Linked DNA regions of Homo sapiens: all the other regions are linked to region 1. The links are contacts of gene promoters, found by promoter capture Hi-C in human tissues and cell types (Jung and others, 2019). All regions are on one chromosome and are shown on one strand. The core of a region is centred on a gene start or on the middle of the fragment in contact, and the rest is flanking DNA. Distances in the headings are between cores, read along the strand shown.

What was found. Contacts are between HindIII fragments. The study calls those that stand out against the background at their distance.
Region 2: a contact is called between a fragment that was not itself captured here and the fragment with the promoter of MIDN in region 1, in 1 of the 25 tissues and cell types used here (spleen).
Region 3: a contact is called between the fragment with the promoter of PLK5 here and the fragment with the promoter of MIDN in region 1, in 1 of the 25 tissues and cell types used here (heart right ventricle).

Annotation. Positions count from the first base shown.
Region 1 is chr19:1,246,822-1,250,005 of GRCh38, reverse strand. It overlaps MIDN (midnolin), which reads right to left and starts at 1,423. Exons shown (of 9, transcript NM_001388306.1): 1 at 1,346-1,423; 2 at 1-116. It overlaps LOC102723811 (a long non-coding RNA gene), which reads left to right and starts at 1,934. Exons shown (of 2, transcript XR_007067082.1): 1 at 1,934-1,993; 2 at 2,145-3,184. RefSeq lists silencers at 1-19, 200-669, 700-819, 880-1,339, 1,430-1,969 and an enhancer at 813-1,346. The HindIII fragment of the contact is 34,576 bases long and covers 1-3,184 here.
Region 2 is chr19:1,639,494-1,642,677 of GRCh38, reverse strand. The region is part of intron 3 of TCF3 (transcription factor 3); the gene reads left to right. Among named protein-coding and RNA genes, the nearest start is that of TCF3, 12 kb to the left of the region's middle. The HindIII fragment of the contact is 9,192 bases long and covers 1-3,184 here.
Region 3 is chr19:1,522,143-1,525,326 of GRCh38, reverse strand. PLK5 (polo like kinase 5 (inactive)) reads right to left here and starts at 1,250. Exons shown (of 14, transcript NM_001243079.2): 1 at 1,081-1,250; 2 at 1-22. LOC107985337 (a long non-coding RNA gene) reads right to left here. Exons shown (of 3, transcript XR_001753835.2): 3 at 2,850-3,184. The HindIII fragment of the contact is 15,366 bases long and covers 1-3,184 here.

The DNA.
Region 1 (3,184 bases), core at 174-2,673:
GGTCCTGGGGAGGGGGCGCCGCTCGGCTGGTGGCGCTGGGTGCCGTCTGCCGCCCGGGTCGCGCTTCCTCGCGCGTCCCCTCCCTTAGCAACAGCCGTCGCCGCCGCTCGGAGGATCTGGGGGTGAAAGTAACAAGAAAAAAAAGTTATAATGTATCAACGTTCCAGGGGGCGGGGCCGCCGCCCCCTCCCATTCACTACTTACTCCGCCGGCCGGGCGCCGGCCAATCGCCGCGCGCCGAGCGCCCAGTCGGCCGCGAGCCCGGGCCTATGAGAGCCGCCGCGGCACCGCCCCACGTGGCAGCCGGGCCCGCCCCCTCGCCCCGCCCCCAGCGCCCAGGCGACCAAGGGGAGCGCAGCGGGGGCGGGGCTGGCGCCTCTCCGCGCCCGCCCCCGCCCCGCCCGCGCCCGCAGCCATTCATAAGCGCCCGGAGCCCGCAACAAAGGGCGGGCGCGCCCCGGGGGGCGCGGGACCCAGGTCTGGAGACGGGTCTGGTACCCCTCGCGATCCCAAGGGAGCGGCCGGGAGCGGGAGGGGGCGCGGGCCATTGTTCCCGGCGCCGGGAGGGGCAGGAAGTCGTGGGGCCACCCCGCCGCCTTCGTCCGGGAAAAGCCGCGAGCGGAAGCGGGAGCGCGAAGTCCGCGCCTCGTGGCCGGGGTCCCGGGGCGGGCGGGCGACGGTGAGGCTAGGGCCGCGGCCCCGGGGAGGGCGTGGTGCGTGGGGGCGGAGTTGTGGCCGGGGCGGGGCGCCCGCACCTCGGTGACGTGGCCGGGTGGCTGCCGCCGGGGGCCCCGCGCGCCCACCCGCCGGCCGCGGGCAGAACCCGTTTCCCCGAGGCGCGCCCGCTCGAGCCGTGACGTGACGCGGCGTCCCCGGCTGCGCCCGCGCGCGCTCGGGGATGCGGTGAGTCAGCAGCTCGGGCGCGCCCTCTGCCGGGCCCGCCTGGGAGCGCCGCCCGGAGTCCCGGGGAGGGGGCGCCGCGCTGCCCCTGGCAGGGGAGGAAGACGACTGGGCTGCGCGCGGGGGAGGAACCCCGATCGGGAACGAAAGACTGTAGTCGGGAGACTGGGACCGTGTGGCTGGGCAACGGAGGGCGGAACGGCAACCAGTTCAAGGTCACCCGCGGTGAAGGGGGAGTGCCCCGGGGGGCGGGGCGGGGGCTGAGGTCCGGCCAGGGCGGCGCTGGCTGCGCGGAGCCCCTCCCACCCCGCACCCCGGGGGGCTTCCCAGGACCGGAGGCTCCCCGATCCCTCCTGTCCCAAGAACAAAGAAAAGTGCGGGCATCCTGAGCCATCTAGAGTGGGCACCCTTCCTCGGCCCGCAGGTCCCCCCCCTCCACACTCACCGGGCGCGGCCGGTTCTGCGCTCCAAGTGCTGCGAGTACCTTCGTCCGGGGCCGAATGCGCGCTGGCCGGGCCGGTCTGGGCCAAGCGCGCGGCCCTCAGCCTTTATCCGCGCCGCCTTCCCTCGGGGTGGAGTTAGGGCGGGCAGGGGGGCGGGGGGCCGGGCGGGCGGTGACGCAGACTGGCCCCCGCCCCTGCCTGCCGGCCCTGGCCCTGGGGCGCCTTGACGGCTGGGCCACCCGGGACCCAGGCTTGGCGCAGTTCATGGGGGGACTCCCCTTGAATGCCCCGAGCCAAGGGTCTCGGCCCGCCTCGCCGCGGGCTGAGATGCACCCCGAATCGTCAGCGGGACAGGGTTTTGGGGTGTACAGCGCGACTCGCTGCCCCGCCCCCTTCCTGTCGCCCCAGGCCCGGTGCTTCCGCCTGGGGGCGCCCGCGTGGGGGGGACGGGAAGAGGGGCCTGAGTCAGCGGCTGTCGTCCAGGAAAACAGGCTGGAGTCACCTGCCGTAGAGTGGGGGTGCCCTGGCCAGCCCTGGCCTCCTGCATCTGTCAATGGTGACCTCAGAGGGCATTTATGGAGCGATTAGCCAGTGCCAGGCCTGCCTTGTGCCCAGCCAGTCACCAGCCGGCTATGCTGTGACCCCGGGAGGTAACTGGCCTCTCCAAGCCTCAGTTTCTCCAGGGTGGGTGGGAGTGTGGTGAGGGGATGCGGCAGGATCACTTTGGGGCCATCACCCCCCATTAATGCAGGACATGCACTGGTTCCCAGCCTTTGGGGTGGGCATTACCCCATTTTACAGATGAAGAAACTGAGGCCACAGCCAATGAGACACGAATGTGGTGTGCATCTCACCCTTCCCCGTCGGCTTTTTGAGGATGGTCCTGGTTGAGGTGGGCCCCGTCCTGCCCCTCTATTTAGAGAAGGGGACCCCATTCCTACGGGAGCACCTCCTGTCCACTCATCTGGCCCCTCCCTTTATCTGGCCTGACCACCTCCACCCCCACCCTGGCCATGGGCGCCCCTCCCAGGGCTGCGCTCCTCCCCAGGTCTCCTTCCGGCTGCCACCCATGCTCCCGGCAGCCGTGGCCCCCACCTTGACAGGCACACCCAGCCCCGAAGGGTCAGGGCTAGGCCAGAGAGGGAGAGGCTGGGATAACCCTTGGAAGGGGGTCACAGGGGCTGCGGTTTGAGGAATGACTAGGAGTTTGTCACATAAAAAAGATGATGCGGTCGGGCGCGGTGGCTCACGCCTGTAATCCCAGCACTTTGGGAGGCCGAGGCGGGCGGATCACAAGGTCAAGAGATTGAGACCAGCCTGGCCAACATGGTGAAACCCTGTCTCTACTAAAAATACAAAAATTAGCTGGGCATGGTGGCATGTGTCTGTAGTCCCAGCTACTCAGGAGGCTGAGGCAGGAGAATCGCTTGAACGCGGGAGGCGGAGGTTACAATAAACCCAGATCGTGCCAGGGCACTCCAGCCTGAGCGACAAAACGAGATTCCGTCTCAAAAAAAAAAAAAAAAAAAAAAAAGGCCGGGCGCGGTGGCTCATGCCTGTAATCCTGGCACTTTGGGAGGCCGAGGCGGGCGGATCACGAGGTCAGGAGTTCGAGACCAGCCTGATCAACATGGTGAAACCCTGTCTGTACTAAAAACACAAAAATTAGCCAGGCGTGGTGATGTGCGCCTGTAATCTCAGCTACTTGGGAGGCTGAGGCGGGAGCATTGCTCGAACCCGGGAGACGGAGATTGTGGTGAGCTGAGATTGTGCCATTGCACTCCAGCCTGGGCAATAAGAGCGAAACTCCTCTCAAAAAAAAAAAAAAAAAAAAAAAAAAA
Region 2 (3,184 bases), core at 350-2,849, 390 kb before region 1:
AACGTGGTGACAGCACGGCCTGTCTCATTTAATAGGTGACAAAGATCGTGTCCTTTCACCTGCCACTTGTTTAATAGAGGGCGGTGGTCTTCTCGGAAGGGGATTGACCCTGTGAATGGCTCTCTGGTGAATTTTCTGTTACTCTCTTGGGCCCTCGTCCTTGAAGTTGATCCACTTTTTATTCTGAAGTCTTTCGGGATTCACAGGAAGTGGCAGAGTGTTCTCCTCTCACCTAGCCACCCCCAGGGGTACCGTCCCGCCCACCCGTGGTGCTGCGTCAGACCTAGGAAGCCGACATTGGTGCCGTCCACAGATCCTGATCAGATTCCACCGGCTTTACACGCACGTGTGTGTGTCTGTGTGTGCGTGCGGGTGTGTGTCTGTGCGTGTGCGCGTCTGTGCGTGTGCGTGCGTGTGTGCGCACGTGTGTGTGCGTCTGCGCGTGCGTGTCTGTGCGTCTGCGCGTGTGTGCGTGTCTGCGTCTGTGTCTGCGTGCGTGTGTGTACGCGTGCGTGTGTGTGTGTGTGTGTGTGTGTGTGTGTGTGTGTAGTTCTGTGCAGTTTTGAGACATGCACCTTCTTTAAGCCCAGGAATCACCAATCTGTTCTTCATCTGTACGATTTTTTTTTTTTAGGGACCAGGTCTCACTCTGTTGTCCAGACTGGAGTGCAGTGGTGTGATCATAACTGACTGTAGCCTTGAAGTTCTGGGCTCAACTGATCCTCCCACCTCAGCCTTGTGAGCAGCTGCGACCACCTAATTAAAAAAATATGTATTTTGTAGAGGGCTGGGTCAGCGGCTCACACTGGTAATCCCCAGCACTTTGGGAGGTTGAGATGGGAGAATTGCCGGAGCCCAGGAGTTCAAGACCAGCCTGGGCAACATGGAGAAACCCTGTCTCTGTTTAAAAAAAAAGAAAAATTTCAGCTGGGTGCGGTGGCTCACACCTATAATCCCAGCATTTTGGGAAGCCAGGGTGTGTGGATCACATGAGGCCAGGAGTTCAAGACCAGCCTAGTCAACGTGGCGAAACCCCGTCTCTGCTAAAAATACAAAAATTAGCTGGGCGTGGTGGTGCGTGCCTGTCATCCCAGCTACTCGGGAGGCTGAGACACGAAAAGCACTTGAACCTGGGAGGCGGAGGTTGCAGTTAGCTGAGATTGCGCCACTGCACTCTGGCCTCGGGGACAGAGGGAGACCGTGTCTGAAGAATAAAAAAATATTGTCTAGATGGGGTCTTGCTGTGTTCTCCAGGCTGATCTTGTATTCATGAGCTCAAGTGATCCTCTTACCTCAGCCTCCCAGAGTGCTGTGATTACATGTGTGAGCCACTGTGCCCAGCCCAATTTTTCACTTTGAGTATTTTGTGTAAATGGAATCCTATAGTTTGCAACCTTCTGAGATTAGCTTTTATTCTGTTACGTTAGCATAATTCCCTGGAGATCCAGCCAAGCTGTTGGCTGTATCTTTTTTTTTTCTTTTTATTGCTGCCTCATTAACTTTTTTTTTTTTTTTGAGACCGAGTTTTGCTCTTGTTGCCCAGGCTGGAGTGCAGTGGCACGATCTCAGCTCACTGCAACCTCCGCCTCCGCCTCCGCCTCCTGAGTTCAAACGATTCTCCTGCTTCAGCCTCCTGAGTAGCTGGGAATATAGGTGCCTGCCACCATGCCTGGCTAATTTTTTGTAGTTTTAGTAGAGACATGGTTTCGCCACGTTGGCCAGGCTGGTCTCAAACTCCTGACCTCCAGTGATCCACCCACCTCGGCCTCCCAAAGTGCTGGGATTACAGGCGTGAACCACCGCGCCTGGCCGCCTCATTAACTTTTTAACAACATCAGTAATACAACAATTTACATCACTTTTTTTTTTTTTTTGAGACGGAGTCATGCTCTGTCACCCAGGCTGGGGTGCAGTGGCGTGATCTCAGCTCACTGCAAGCTCCGCCTCCCAGGTTCACGCCATTCTCCTGCCTAGCCTCCCTAGTAGCTGGGACTACAGGTGCCGGCTAAGTTTTTGTATTTTTAGTAGAGACGGGGTTTCACCTTGTTAGCCAGGATGGTCTCCATCTCCTGACCTTGTGATCCGCCCGCCTCGGCCTCCCGAAGTGCTGGGATTACAGGTGTGAGCCACTGCTTACATCAGTGTTTCTTGAGCACTGTGCATTGGACACAAAGCTTGGCTTATTCACTGGGAATTCTCAGTTCTAACAGGTTAGCGAAATAGGTGTAATTATTACCGTATTTTACTGGTAAAGAAGCTGAAACTTAGAGAGTTTAGTAACCATTGCGCTAATTTTTTGTATTTTTAGTAGAGGCAGGGTTTCACCGTGTTAGCCAGGACAGTCTCGGTCTCCTGACCTGGTGATCCTCCCGCCTCGGCCTCCCAAAGTGCTGGGATTACAGGCATGAGCCACCGAGCCCGGCCTCATTTGGCTGTTTGATAATGTTTGTAGGCGCCTGTCTGTCCACCCGTGCCAAAAGTGCTGGGATTCCAGGCCTGACCCTCTGCGCCTGGCCCCGTTCGGCTCTTTGATAACGTTTGGAGGCGCCTGTCTTTCCACCTGCGCAGGGAGGCTGAGGGCGCCGCGGTCCTCAATGCGCCAACTTTTAGGTGGTTTCTTTGTTCTTGACTCGGCTGCCCTGTGCATTTTCTCTCTCTCGTTGATTTTTCTTCTGGAGAATCTGCTTCATTGGCAAATCGATATTGATCAATTGATCAATTTTCCTCTTTATCGGCATTTCTTCTCTTTCTAAAGTTTTTGGTGACTTTCAGATCACAGGCCCCTTTTGCTGACTTCTGCCCTCTTCTGTTCCATCAGTGTGGTGTTGAGGGTTCCACCCCGTGAACCCCATCCCATTGGTTTCCATAATGCATGTTTTTCTCATATTACTGACATTTGTTCCTTTTTTTTTTTTTTTTTTTTTTTCCTAATTTCCTCTTCAGGTCAGGTTGCTTCAGAGGTTTCTGAGTTCCAAGTTGGAGGTCCTTTCTTGATTTCTAGATCTCCAGTGCCAAAACTCAGCTTTGGCTTAAACGGTAGCTACTGTTTGGAGGACGCAGAGCTCCTCTGCCGAGGCTGAAACATGGATTATTTTTGTCCTTCTTTGTGAGTACTTGAGGGATAGTTGGATGTGGAGCTGCGAGGCCTTTGAACCATATTTAGATTTTTAATCTGTTTAATGTC
Region 3 (3,184 bases), core at 1-2,500, 280 kb before region 1:
TGTAGCAGCGGCTGAAGGCGCCCTGTGGGGAGGGGTCAGCAGATCAGTGGGCAGGTGTGCACGGGTGTGCAAGCTGGCAGCGCGTACAGAGGCACAGGGCAGCCAGGGACGCAGGCGCGTCCAGGTCTCTCCACACACACACCGGGGAAAAAACAACACACAGCTCCCACCCTCCCGCCTGGACACACAAGACATGATGCACACAAGAAGGCACAGAGACACAGACACAGACACATCCACGCCTGGTGCATAGAGGCCACGGACCAGAAGACAGCACCGGATGCACAACACCACGCCTGAATACGACACACAAACACGCAACGCCCAGACACAGAGTCACCATGCATGGACACACAACACAACACCCAGATACACAACGCAGCAACACACAAACACATGAATATACAATGTCTGGACACACAGTCACCACGTGTGGACACACAACACAATACCCAGACACAGCACAGGAACACACAAACACATGAACACACAACACCTGGACACACAGTACAACACATGGACAAAGACACAGATACAAACACATGAACACACAACTCCTAGACACACCACATATGAACACACAAACACACAAGCACACCACATGAACACACAACACCCAGACACACAACACAATGACTGGACACACAAAGGCATGACGCACAAACAACAGGTGAACAAGCAACACAACACCCAGACACACACACACACACACACACACACACACACGAACACCGCACAGCACCCAGACACTTGGAAGCAGCGGGCACAGACGCGGCACACTCAGACCCTCGCCAGGCTCGCACACACACCCAGGGGCAACACAGCGTCGCATCCCGAGGCCGAGCCGCACGCCCACACCCCGGACACGCAACCCACGGACACGACGCACAGCGCGCTCAACACGGTTCCCGCCATGCGAAACCCCGCACGGGAGGCCCCGCGGCTCCGGACGCGCGCCCGCTCCAGACCCCGCGCTCGCAGGGACGCGCCGCGTAGACCGCGCAGGATCGCCCGCGCGCCCCGGGACCCCAGCCCAGCCCGGTCCGGCCCCGTCGCGGACTCGGGGCGCGGGCCTCCCACCTTGCCGATCAGCTTCCCGCGCCTGTACACGCGGCCCGAGCCCGGGTCTCGCAGGAAGGCGGCGACCAGGGGGCGACTCCTGCGCCGCCGCCGCGGCCGGGGCTCCATCGCGCGGACTCTGGCGCAGCCGGGCCGAGACCACCGCGCTGCGGCCGCTCCGGGGCCGCTCTGAGGGCGCAGGAGCCGCCGGGGAGCGTTTTATTGGCCGCGGGGGCGGGGAGGGGGCGGAGCCCGGGCGCAGGTCCAGCCCGGGGAGGGGCGGGAGGTGCCCGGCCGTGGAGTGGGGGGCGCGTGAGCGGCGGGGACGCCGCGGCTGGGGAAGTTCCACGGACCAGAGCGCGCCCGAGTCCCGCACGCCAACCGGGCGCCAGGGGCCGCGCTCAGCCCGCGAGCTCCTCCGACCCTGCACACCCGGGCTGGCTGGGAACCGCTGATACGCCCGCTTTACCGAGCGGGAAACTGAGGCTCTCTCGCGCGTGGGGGGTTGGGGGCTTCCGGGGGCTTCTCCCCCACAGTGCGCTTGAGGTATGAGCCTCGACGTTCTGAATGTGTGCCATTTCGGGTCCTCCCTGCTGGCGGGTCCCTGGGGCCCACATGAAAACCTGGGGCTTGATGGCCCTGGGCACTGGGGAGCCACAGCAGAATTCGGAGCGGCAGAGAAGCCCAGCGTTTGTGATGCTGGGGCTGGTGGGGAGGGCGGTGAGGCCTGGGACAGGGACCCAGGAGGCAGGACCGGGGCTTGGGGACGCATGGGCTGGGGTCCTACAGTGTAGTGGATGTCCCATATGAGGGAGCTTCAGCCCGGAGAAGGGATGGGCTGTGTGGAGCAGCAGGTGGACCCTGGCTGGGGTTTGCACGGACAGCCAGGTGGGGACGTCCTTGAAATGGCGACCTCAGAGAGCATCAGAAACCTCAGAGAACTCAGAGAACAGCTGGGTGGGAAGACAGTGGGGGGCTTGAGACTCCCCCGGAATCGTGGGGGTGGTTGCTCCAAGCCCTGCCCCAGACTCAGGTGCACCCCTTTCCTGGTGAGGTCTTCCCTCACCCTTCCACCCAGCCTGGGACACAAAAACGGGCCTTGTCCCCATTGTACAGGCAAGACATTGAGACCCAGGGACGCAAAGTCGCTCAGTCAGCCCAGGAAAGGGCAGCGCTGGGTTTGAATCCCGGCAGCCGCCCCTGGACGCCTGCGGTATTAATCCCCAAATGTTACATAACACCAGGAATGGGGAGGGGTTACCAGGCTCCGTGGGGCTGGAATTTTCCAGGGACCAGATTTCGGAATCTGGCCCGGCCACACCACTAGGGACAGGAAACACCTTCTGAGCCGTCACGTGTCCACCTGGTGTCACGAATGGGGCCCCCGTGCATTGGACGGGGCTGAGCTCGGGCACCTTTGCGGGGTTTCTGGTCCCAGGGCCAGGGCGGAAGATTCCTGGCCAGCCTGGGGCCACCGGGTTGCAGCTGGGGAGCCCAAGTCCCCTGCTGATGAGAATCAGGTGAGGTGGCTGCAAGGTGGGCTGCTCGGGGCCCGAGTGTCTGAGCTGTCACACGACTGTCACCCTGGAATCCTCCAGGGGCAGAAAGCCAGTTCCTTGCTTTTTTTTTTGTTTGTTTGTTTTTTTGAAAGAGAGTCTTGCTCTGTCACCCGGGCTGGAGTGCCGTGGTGTGATCTTGGCTCACTGCAACCTCCATCTCCCGAGTTCAAGCAATTCTCCTGCCTCAGCCTCCCAAGTAGCTGGGACTACAGGTATGCACCACCACACCCAGCTGATGTATTTATTTATTTGTATTTTTAGTAGAGACGGGTTTCACCATGTTGGTCAGGCTGGTCTCAAACTCCTGACCTCAAATGACCCGCCTGCCTCGGCCTCCCAAAATGCTGGGATGACAGGCGTGAGCCACCAGGCCTGGCTTCCGGTTCCTTCCTGATAGCACCAGTCCATCCTGGCATCAGTTCAGGCATTTGTTAAGCACTTACTGCATATGGGCCTGTGTCAGGCTGTGCGAGCCCAAGGCAGACCCAGCCCTGTCCTCGTAAAAGGACCACTGCTTAACGGACTGCAAGAACGTCCAAGACTTCACCAAGTCAGGGGTCAAGGAA